Linked DNA regions of Homo sapiens: regions 1 and 2 are each linked to region 3. Evidence: promoter capture Hi-C in 16 types of primary human blood cells and fetal thymus (Javierre and others, 2016). All regions are on one chromosome and are shown on one strand. Each heading gives the region's core, a stretch centred on a gene start or on the middle of the fragment in contact. The rest is flanking DNA. Distances are from core to core; before and after follow the strand shown.

The links. The method cuts DNA at HindIII sites, captures the fragments that hold promoters and counts their contacts. A CHiCAGO score of 5 or more calls a contact.
Region 1: a contact is called between a fragment that was not itself captured here and the fragment with the promoter of SHCBP1L in region 3, in 1 of 17 cell types (endothelial precursors). The highest score is 7.8, in endothelial precursors.
Region 2: a contact is called between a fragment that was not itself captured here and the fragment with the promoter of SHCBP1L in region 3, in 1 of 17 cell types (M1 macrophages). The highest score is 7.0, in M1 macrophages.

Annotation. Positions count from the first base shown.
Region 1 is chr1:183,334,640-183,338,474 of GRCh38, reverse strand. The region is part of intron 1 of NMNAT2 (nicotinamide nucleotide adenylyltransferase 2); the gene reads left to right. Among named protein-coding and RNA genes, the nearest start is that of NMNAT2, 82 kb to the left of the region's middle. The HindIII fragment of the contact is 2,074 bases long and covers 787-2,860 here.
Region 2 is chr1:183,255,794-183,259,580 of GRCh38, reverse strand. All of the region lies in intron 10 of NMNAT2 (nicotinamide nucleotide adenylyltransferase 2), which reads left to right. It also overlaps a transcript of LAMC2 not described here. Among named protein-coding and RNA genes, the nearest start is that of LAMC2, 71 kb to the right of the region's middle. The HindIII fragment of the contact is 1,321 bases long and covers 1,593-2,913 here.
Region 3 is chr1:182,951,723-182,955,561 of GRCh38, reverse strand. It overlaps SHCBP1L (SHC binding and spindle associated 1 like), which reads left to right and starts at 2,396. Exons shown (of 10, transcript NM_030933.4): 1 at 2,396-2,833. The coding sequence starts at 2,429. It also overlaps the pseudogene LOC100271717. The HindIII fragment of the contact is 6,039 bases long and covers 1-3,839 here.

The DNA of each region.
Region 1 (3,835 bases), core at 574-3,073, 380 kb before region 3:
ATTGTACCTCTAGTAAGTGAAAACCAGAACATAAAGCTAAGGTTTTTAAATAGAAACTCCTATGCTATTTCTACACTGTTGTCATTTCTCCTCAACCCCACACCTAATTTTTTCATGTGCAAAGTGAGGGTATTTGGAATAAATGATCTCAGAATTTCTTTCTAGCTTTCAAGTAGAATCTAGTGTCTTGCAGTTTTCAGATGCACCCTGATTCATCTGAAGAACTCAGAGTTATGATATCTGCCTCACGGTTAATGATCTGTCAGATCTATTCCCACTTTTCTATCTGTATCCTGTAGCATTTGCTTTTTTTTTTTTTTTTTTTAAAGAGATGGGGGTCTCACTATGTTGCCTGGGCTGGTCTGGGCTCCAGTGATCCTCCTGTAGCTAGGACTACAGATGCAGGTCAGTGTGCCTGGCAACATTTCCATTGTTATAGTTCATGGCATAACCTTTCTTTAGAGAGGGGATCTATTTGAAATCAATAATAAGAGAACAACCAGTTTATTCCTTAGATTTCACTAGCAAATAAAGAAACAGTCTGACAAGTGTATGCACATCCCAGCATTTCCACTACTTTTGCATTAAACATCTAAGCACAGCACAGGCCTCTCTCTACAAAGAAGCCAGGTTTGTGACATCTAGAATCATCTACGAGGCATTTAGACCCTTGGAAAATGGCAATAAAAGTGCAAATGGATGGAAAGTATTGATGGCAAAAGGTATCTAAGTGATTAAACATTTAAAAATGGAGCAGGAAACGATTGTTGCCAGCAGAGAGAAGCTTCGGCTGAATCCTTGGTGCATTACTCTTGAAGGAATAATTATAAAAGCCCACAAACTGATGGCAACTCTCAATTACAGATGCTTCTCAAATGTATGGTATTTTTTTTTTTTTTTTTTTTGCTGTGGAGAGGAGGTGGTTAAGATTATTGGTAGTAGGCAAACCTAGATTCAAGGTCTTATTTCTTAGTAAATGACTCAACCTCTTTATGTCTTGGGTTTTTTCTTTATAGAACCTGTGTGATAATGATAACACTAAATAATATATCAAATAGTGATGTGAGGATTTTGAAGTTTAAAGAGATAAATTTGTTGTTGTATTTTCATCAAAGTAAAACATAGTCATGATTTTAAAAATATACTACTACTGACAGGTAGTAAACAGCAGGATTTTCTCTCTTCCTAATTTTTTTCATATTTTTATCCCTTCACTATGTCATTCTTTCTCTCTTATTGTAGAAATCTTTTTTCCCATTATTTTCATTTTTAAAAATTAAGGAAAATATTTACATAGAGTGGCAAGCACAGATCTTAAATGTTCAAGTCACTGAATTTTGACAAATACACCTGTGTAACCAACTCTCCAATCAAGATACAGACCATTCTAATCACCCCAGAAAGATTTCCCCTGCTCCCTTCCAGGCAGTCCTTATTCCCTGTAGGCAGCTATTCTGATTTTTGTCACTATAGATTAGTTTTGCATTCTTGACCTTTAGTTTAATGAAATTAAACAGTATACATTGTTTTGTATTTGGCTTTCTACTCCCAACAGACTTATCTGTGTTCTTGCAAGTAGTAGATTGTATCCTTTTGTGTTGCTATGAAGTATTCCATTGTTTGAATCTACCACAGTTTATTTCTCCAATTTCCTATTGATGAACATTTGGGTTGTTTCTGGTTTGTAGCTATTGTAAACACAACTGCTAGAAACATTCTTGTGTAAGTATTTTTGTGGTCACAGGTTTTCATTTCTTTTAGGTAAGTATTTAGGAATAGAATTGCTGAATCATCTGGTGTTTGTTTAACTTTGTAAAGAACTACTGCATGGTTTTCCAAAGTGGTTGCCATTTGACAATCCTACCAGCAACGTATGAGAATTCCAGTTCCTCCCTATCACCAACAATATTTGGTAATGTCAGTCTTTTTAATTGTAGGTTTTCAAATCCATATGAAGTGATATGATATATAACCAGTGGGGGAAATTGGGTGAAGAGTATTCTCTCTATACTCTCTTTGCAACTTCCTGTGAAGCTACAATTATTTTCAAAATAAAAAGGTTTTAACACATATTGGTTTTTCAAACTGGTATGAGGTGGTATCTCATTGTAATTTTCTTTTGCATTTATTTGATTTCTAATGACACTGAGTACTTTGTCATGTGGTTATTGGCCACTTATATATATCTTCTTTTGTGAAATGTCCGTTCAAGTTTTCATACATTTTCTTTTAATTGCCTTGTTTGTCTTTTTGTTATTAAATGACTTTCATCCTAGTCTATTAGGCTTAGATTTGATTGTGGCACTACTCTAGTAACACTACAGTGCTACTGTTGGTTAAAACCCAACAAGCCTAAGTTCACTGGGCTGATTTAGGAAAACATTACAGCCTGTTGCCAGGGAATAAAGTTGGTATGAGAAGAAATCACACACATTTAGGGAAGAATTTCAGACTCTTTTAGTTTCTCACAGAAATGAGTTTCACAGAGTTCAGATACCCTTGTTGTGAAGGTCTCTCCCTCCTACTCTCCTTGTAAACCTCCGTATCTCCTGAGATCATCCTGTGCCCAAAGATAGGCCAGCCTATTGTATTCACAGATTATTTATCCAACAAACATTGATGGGTGCCTGTAATGTGTCAAGCACTGGTTAGACTTGGGATCAGAAGATATATTAGACATGATCCTGACTTCTGAGACCCTATAATCTAGTTGGCAAAACATATAGTAAAAATAATGAAATAAAATGAATGAAGTACACAGGGATAACTGCAAAAAGGAGTATGCGCAATGTGGCAGCACAAAGGCATGATCAACTAACCCCATCCTGGGACACCAGGGAAGTTCTATTTTTCCCAAGCTTTAGGAAGGCATTATATAGACATTTCTCCCATGTCTATCCCAAGGAAACATAGCCAAGCTGGAACTGAAGATGACTACAGCAGAAACATCTTCAAGCTTGGCTGTTGCAAAAGCATCCATAATCAGAAAAAGAGCTTCCTCACATCACCTTGCCACAGAGGGGTGCAGAGGAGACTCAGGTGGTGGCCATGTTGGTGGTTCATTCACATTTTACACTAATGAGTGAAGGGCTATTTCCTTCCTATTTGCATCCACAGCTGGAGGTATAGATTTTTCAAGACATAGGGCCGGATTTGTGCAGAGGTATAGAGTAGAAAGAGACCATGTTGTTTCTACCAGAACTTTTTAATTTGGACATCTGAGTAGATGGTGTTGCTGTTAACAGAGACGGGATCTAACAAGAAGAAGGAAACTAGTTGTTTGGGGAATTGTTATTTTGGTTGTGATTGTTCGGTGACTTTTCACAGAAGCCCAGTAAAACGGGAATAATGCAACAGTTCAGTGGATTAAATGAGGAGATACCTGTAAGGTACCTGGTAGGTTATACTTGACAATTGTTATTAATTGATGTAGTGAGGAGCTGAGAGACCTGGCTGAATCAGATTTTTATGTTAATCTAATTCCAAGTTGTGCTCCAGTTCCTTAACTCTCTCCACTTAGGACAATATCATGTAACTTTTTCCTGACCCAGAACAGACAGGAAGTCAGCCCAGAGCTTCCTTACTAGGGCACCGTGGAGTCTCCCAACCCCAGGGCTTAGCTGTCCTGGCAGTTTGGGTCACGACCTGAAGAATGGGTGGCCTTGGGCCAGGTGCGGTGGCTCATGCCTGTAATCCCAGCACTTTGGGAGGCTGAGATGGGCGGATCACTTGAGGTCAGGAGTTCGAGACCAGCCTGGCCAACATGGTGAAACCCCATCTCCACTAAAAATACAAAAATTAGCTGGGCTTGGTGGTGGGTGCCTGTAATCCCAAC
Region 2 (3,787 bases), core at 1,004-3,503, 300 kb before region 3:
ACAGAAAGAGTCAAGAAGAGAAGACTATGGGGAACATTGCAAACATTTTAGCATTTAATAGAAAGTTAAAAGGCAGTTAGAAACCACTGGACCACCGGCAGTGGTGGCCCAGAAGCCAAGGTGAGAGAGGGGACAAAGATGGAGAGCATTGCCATCTGTGTCACATCTTTCAGAGAAATCAAATGAGACCAGGACTTTAAAAAGTAATTGCCTTCTTCCCTGGAAGGCAATTACAGAGACACTCACAAGGGTAACATCCACTGTGAGGTGAGGGCAGAAGCAATGGGCAATAAGCGGAGAGGGGCAGCATGTGGTTCCAAACATGGCTGCACATTAGAGTCGCCATGCAGAGTTACACAACAGTACAAATTCCTGTGTCCTGCCCAGTCCCACTGAGTCAGAATATATGGGGGGTGGGCTTAGGAATCTGCTTCAGAGCCACAGGTATACACACTTTTTCAAAAACTATGTGAGGAGGCACTTAGGGACCTAGCTTGCAAGGTCAGGGTGTAACCACCCAAGGGGTTCACCTTGCTCGCTGCCTAGACAGAGCAGATTCATCAAGACAGGGGAATTGCAATAGAGAAAGAGTAATTCACGCAGAGCCGGCTGTGCGGGAGACCAGAGTTTTATTGTTATCAAATCAGTCTCCCTGAGCATTTCGGGAGCAGAGTTTTTAAGGAAAACTTCATGGGTTGGGGAAGCCAGTGAGCCAGGAGTGCGGATTGGTCAGAGATGAAATCACAGGGAGTCGAAGCTGTCTTCTTGCACTGAGTCAGTTCCTGGGTGGGGGGCCGCAAATTCAAATAAGCCAGTTTATTGATCTGGGTGGTGCCAGCTGGTCCATCAAGTGCAGGGTCTACAAAATATTGCAAACACTGATCTTAGGAGCAGTTTAGGGAGGGTCAGATCTTGTAGCCTTCAGCTGCATGACTCCTAAACCGTAATTTCTAACCTTGTGGCTAATGTTAGTCCTACAAAGTCAATCTAGTCCCTAGGCAAGAAGGAGGTCTGCTTTGGGAAAGGGCTGTTGTCCTCTTTTTTAAACTATAAACTAAGTTTCTCCCAAACTATAAACTATAAACTAAGTTTCTCCTGAAGTTAGTTCAGCCTACACCAGGAACAAGGACAGCTTGGAGGTTAGAAGCAAGATGGAGTCGGTTAAGTTAGATCTCTTTCACTGCCTCAGTCATAATTTTGCAAAGGTGGTTTCAAGGGCAGTGCATGCATTGAAAGGCAGTGAGCTGGTCTCCAGTGAGATCTCACAGGCAGGGCTCAGATGCCTTTTAGAATCTACGTATGTGGAGGCGTATATGAATTTTTACAAATAGTTCGTTTGGGTCTGACACCTAGACTATTGTGTTAGGAGAGAACAGGAAGTAGGCAGACCAAGGCTGGAAAAAAACTGTGCAGAAGCCAAAATGTGTCACTGGAGTCCTTTATACCTGTTGGTGCCTCTCCTCCATGGGCTCCTGTAGGAAGGAAAAGATGCAGTGAATCCCAAAAATCCCTGGAAGAGAATTCATACTCTTGAGGCCAGCATGCAGAGGAACCCAAAAGGATAAACTAAGGATAGTTCTAAGAGGAAAGCTTCTAACAATAATTGCTCCCATTAAAACAGAAGAAAGACCCCAAATAAATTGCCTAGCATTATGCCTTAAGGAACTAGAAAAAGAAGAACAAACTAAACCCAAAGGAAGGAAATAATAAAGATTAGAGCAAAACTAAATAGAGAATAGAAAAACCATAGAAAAAATTAATAAAATGAAGAGTTGGTTTTTTGAAAAAAAAAAACAAAATTGACAAACCTTTATCTAGACTGAAAAAAAGACTCAAATATATAAAATCAGAAATGAAAGTGTAGACATTATAACAGATGTCTCAGAAATAAGATGGATCATAAGGAATTATTATGAACAATTATATGCAAACAAATTTGGTAACCTAGAGGGCAGGGATAAATTCCTTTAAAAAGATAATCTGGCAAGATTGAATCAGGAATAGCCTGAACAGACCAATAACAAATAGATTGAAGTAGTAATTAAAAACTTCCCAACAAAGAAAAGCCCAGGACCAGATGACTTCAGAGCTGAATTCTACCAAATTTTCAAAGAATAATTAATACCAATACTTCTTTTTTTAGACAGAGTCTCACTCTGTCGCCCAGGCTGGAGTGCAATAGCGTGATCTTGGCTCACTGCAACCTCCGCGTCCCGGGTTCAAGTGATTCTCCTGCCTCAGCCTCCCAAGTAGCTGGGATTACAGGTGCCTGCCACCACACCCAGCTAATTTTTGTATTTTTGGTAGAGACAGGGTTTTACTATGTTGGCCAGGCTGGTCTTGAACTCCTGAGCTTGTGATCCACCCACCTCGGCCTCCCAAAGTGCTGGTATTACAGGCATGAACCACTACGCCTGGCCTATACATTTTAAACTCTTCAAAGAAATACAGCTGGAAGGAATACCTCCTAGCACATTCTACGAGGCCAGCATCGCCTTTGATACCTAAGCCAGATAAAGACACCAAAGAGGCCAGGCACAGTGGCTCATGCCTGTAATCCTAGCACTTTGGGAGGCCAAGGCAGATCGATCACTTGAGGTCAGGAGTTCAAGATGAGTCTGGCTAATATGGTTAAACCCCATCTCTACTAAAAATACAAAAATTATCCAGGCATGGTGGCACGTGACTGTAATCCCAGCTACTTGGGAGGCTGAGGCAGAAGAATCACTTGAACCCAGAAGGCAGAGGTTGCAGTGAACTGAGATCATGCGCTGCTGCACTCCAGCCTGGGCAACAGAAAAAAAAAGACACCACAAGAAAAGAAAACTGTAGGCCAATATTTCTGATGAGCATTGATGTAAAAGTCCTCAATAAAACATTAGCAAATTGAATTCAACAACACAACATGAAGCTTATACATGATGATCAAGTAGGATTTATCCCTGGCACACAAGGCTGGTTTAACATATGCAAATCAGTCAGTGTGATACATCACATAAATAGACTGAAAGATAAAACCACATGACCATATCAATTGATGCAGATAAAGCATTGGACAAAGTTCAACATCCTTTCTTGATAAAGATTCTTAACAGTTTAAATATAGAAGGAAAGTTTCTCAACATAACGAAGGCCATTTTTTAAATTTTTTAATTTTTTTATTATTTTTTTTGAGATGGAGTCTGGTTCTGTCACCCAGGCTGGAGTGCAGTGGCACAATCTCTGCTCACTGCAACCTCCGCCTCCTGGGTTCACGTGATTCTCCTGCCTCAGCCTCCTAAGTAGCTGGGATTACAGGCACACACTACCATGCCCAGCTAATTTTTTGTGTATTTTTGGTAGAGACAGGGTTTCGCTATGTTGGCCAGACTGGGCTCGAACGCCTGACCTCGTGATCTGCCTGCCTCAGCCTCCCAAAGTGCTGGGATTACACGCGTGAGCCACCACTCCCGGCAAGGCAATTTATTTTATTTTTTTTAAAAAACCCACAGCTAACATTATAATCAATGGGGAGAAAATGAAAGCTTTTCCTCTAAGACCTGATATAAAGCAAGAATGCCCACTATTCCCACTTCCATTCAGCAAAGTACTGAAAGTACTATCAATAGCAGTTAGACAGCCAGGCACGGTGGCTCACACCTATAATCCCAGCACTTTGGGAGGCGGAGGCAGGTGGATCACTTGAGGTTAGGAGTTAGAGACCAGTCTGGCCAATATGGTGAAACCCTGTCTCTAACAGAAATACAAAAATTAGCTGGGCATTGTGGCTTGTGCCTGTAATCCGAGC
Region 3 (3,839 bases), core at 1,147-3,646:
ACTCCAGAAAGACTGTGCCCTCTGAGACCACACTGCCCAGAATCTCCTTCAGATGGGCCTAGCTTTCCTTGTCCTGGTGACTCTGGTGTGATTCCTAGTTGAAGACTGGCTCAGCAGGAAGAGGACTAGAGGGCGAGCCAACAGAGCTTCCACTTGGGATTGCGGCAGAAGGTTGAGAACACAAAGACCCCTTGAAGAATGACCAAGAAACGCAGTGGCCATGGGTGGAACTGAAAGCCGATCTTGAGCCTGGGCATTGGGAGCTCTGTGTTGGGAGAAGGGAGTCATTGTAGGAAAAAGGGACAGTGGTATTCCATTTGTCAAAGCATCCTGGAGGAGACAGGAGGTGGGAGAAACAAGCTAAATTTCTTTGGGAGGCAAAAAAAAAGAAAAAAGTTGTTTTAAAAACTCAGCTTAAGTATCCCTTCTTTGGAGAAGAAAGGTCCTTTTCTCCTACAATGTGGAATATATGTGTATATATATACACACACACACACACACACACACGCATATATATACACACATAAATAAATACAAATTATTTGTGTGTATATAAATATATATATGTATGTATTTATGTGTATTTACATAAATAAAAGCATGGTCCTTACCAAACACAATCATCTACTGACCCATCTGTATCTTTCACTAGGATTACGAGGGCAGGGATTTGGTCTTTTACCTCTATAACTGTGGCATCTACGCATTGTGTGGCATGTAACAGATTTCTAACAAGTATTTGCCTTTTGGAGGAAAAGGGAGCTGTTGCTGTTTTTAAACTTTGGCCCAGGACAGGTGGTCTTTATTATTCAGAACCTAAGAATTAAAAAACCCATAATTTATCAAAAACAAACTTTTGAAGAAACACTAGAGTAAAACATTTGTGTGTGTGTGTGTGAGTGAAATATGCAGTTAGTATTGTTATAAACAAAGTCCAGGACTCAACGAAAGGAATAAAGTAAGAATAGAATTGAAACATGATGCATGTTGTAATTATTCCCTAAACTACAGTAACATGATGTTAATTTTTTTTTTTTTTTTTTTTTTGAGACGGAGTCCCGCTCTTTAGCCTAGGCCGGATTGCAGTGGCGCAATCTCGGCTCACTGCAAGCTCCGCCTCCCAGGTTCACGCCATTCTCCTGCCTCAGCCTCCCGAGTAGCTGGGACTACAGGCGCCCGCCACTGCGCCCGGCTAATTTTTTGTATTTTTAGTAGAGACGGGGTTTCACCGTGTTAGCCAAGATGGTCTCGATCTCCTGACCTTGTGATCCGCCCGCCTCGGCCTCCCAAAGCGCTGGGATTACAGGCGTGAGCCACCGCGCCCAGCCACATGATGTTAATATTTTCCTCAAAATAAACTCAGAATTTAACATAGTGTTCTTCCAGACGAGTGTGAAGGAAGGCAGGTGTTTTCCCAATGCTGTTCTCCTTGGGAGCTGTCAGCTTCAGTGCAGTATTTCACAGCTAGACTGTGAACAAACGTTAATTCCAATTGGCTCAATATACATTCAACAGTAAAATACCAGAAGTGAGTGGTCTCTGTTGTTCTCCAAAATGTATGATCTGGAACAGACTTTTATCGTGAAAGTGTTCATAGTTTGCACACATCACTCCCAGCTGGAAGTTGTTGTCCAGTTTAACAGTTATATAATATAATCTTTTATGTGAGAATTTTGAATAGCACAACAGAGACAAGAAAACAGACTAACTTCTCCTTGGTATGACCACATCTTGGCAAAAAGTGAAAGTCCTATTTAAAATGTAAAGGAAATCCTATTTGGTGAACCCTGTAATAGGTGGGGGCTAAAAGGGAAATCTAGGTTGCTGGATTTGTCACTAGGGTTTCCTCTAGTAATAGCCAGAGGGTTCCAGTTAGTGTCACCTCCCAGTATGAAAATAAATTTTCTTTCAGGCTTTGTTTGTGGAGTGGTAGGTGGAGCATTTTTTTAGGTCCTGATGACCTGGAAGGTGACTCATAATCACCCTGAAACGTATGAGGACCCTAAGGAAACCTCCCCTGGGGGAGACAGAGGGCTGGGGTTAGAGCCATTGCGTTGGGCTCGTCTGGCACCTTCTGGTGTGTGCGGCACCTGGTGGGGGTTCGGCACGGAGCCGCACCCAACACTGACCCGGGCCCCCCCACCCCTGTCCTGAGCCCAGGCGCTTCGCCCTGTCCCACCTAGCTCTGAGCAGCGCCCCCCAGCACCCTGAATGCGTCCGCAGGACCCCGCGCTCTACCCGCAGGCCCCGCACCCCCTAGCTCTGGGCCGCGCCTCACATCCCTCCCAGAGCCGCAACACCCCACCCGGCGGGACGCCCTCGAGCAGCCGCTCGTTGCGGGCCTGAAGCGCAGAGCGCCTATTGGCCAGAGCGGCCGAGGGCGGGAAAAGTGGCCAACGGCTGCCTCGGCCCTCGGGCTGCTGAGGAGATGGCGTCGGGCTCCAAGGCCTCGGTGCCCGCGGACTCATTCCGCACCATCAGCCCGGACAGGCGAGGCGAGAAGTCCGCCTCCGCTGTCTCCGGGGACACGGCGGCCGCGACCACCCTGAAGGGCACCGCGATCCCAGTGCGGTCGGTGGTGGCCTCCCCTCGCCCGGTGAAGGGGAAAGCGGGCCGGGAGACGGCCAGGCTGCGGCTCCAGCGCCTGCCCGCGGCTCAGGCCGAGGACACGGGAGAGGCGGCGGCGGCGGCGGCGGAGGAGCCCCTGCTGCCAGTGCCTGAGGATGAAGAGGAGGCGCAGCCCCTGCCCCCAGTCTGCGTGTCCCGTATGAGGGGGATGTGGCGGGACGAGAAGGTGTCGCTGTATTGCGACGAAGTGCTGCAGGACTGTAAGGTGAGCGGATCCGGGACAGGAAGACTACGGTCGGAAGCTCGTCGGAACCTGGGGACAGGCATCTGGGGCTTCCCTCTTAGGCGGATGGGGATCCACAGGGCACAACGAAAACTTGCGTTTCAAAAAAGTAAATGGAGTCAACATGTATAGAGCGTTCACCTTGTTAGAGGTGCCCGCGTCCTGCCCTAGAGGAGTTAAGGTTCGAGTTTCCGACAAAATTCGTCAGGTAACGGGACAGCCCTGAGAGAGAATTTTCTGAGAGCTCCTAAAAAATGAAGATATATTGGCCTTATCATTGCACAGGCATGAATCTTGGTACCTTTATTTAACAGTTTATGTCCAAACATGAGTAAGATCACTTAGCCTTGACTTTTACACTAGAATGCTAGAAATTACTTTAAGGGTACTTCCCACTCAGCAGTCCACAATGCGGCATGATATATATGTGTGTGTATATATATATATAAATGTGTGTGTGTGTGTGTGTGTGTGTATATATATATATATATATATATATATATATATATATATATATATTTTTTTTTTTTTTTTTTTTTTTTTTTTTTTTTTTTGGAGACGGAGTTTCATTCTTGTTGCCCATGCCGGAATGCAGTGGGGCAATCTCGGCTCACACAACCTCCGCCTCCCGGTGCAAGCAATTCTCCTGCCTCAGCCTCCCGAGTAGCTGGGATTACAGGCATGAGCCACCACGCCTGGCTAATTTTGTATTTTTTTTTAGTACAGATGGGGTTTCTCCAGTTGGTCAGGCTGGACTCGAACTCCCGACCTCAGGTAATCTGCCCGCTTCGGCCTCCCAAAGTGTTGGGATTACAGGCATGAGCCACCGTGCCTGGTGGCATGACTTTCTTTTATAGAAAATACATATCTGATAAAACGGAATAGAGCAAATATTTCATGTTTCTAACCTATTTTTTTAAGTTGTAGCAGAAGAATTTGTGTACCTGCATATTCACTGCAGTGATATTTATAAAAAGTTGAAAATTAA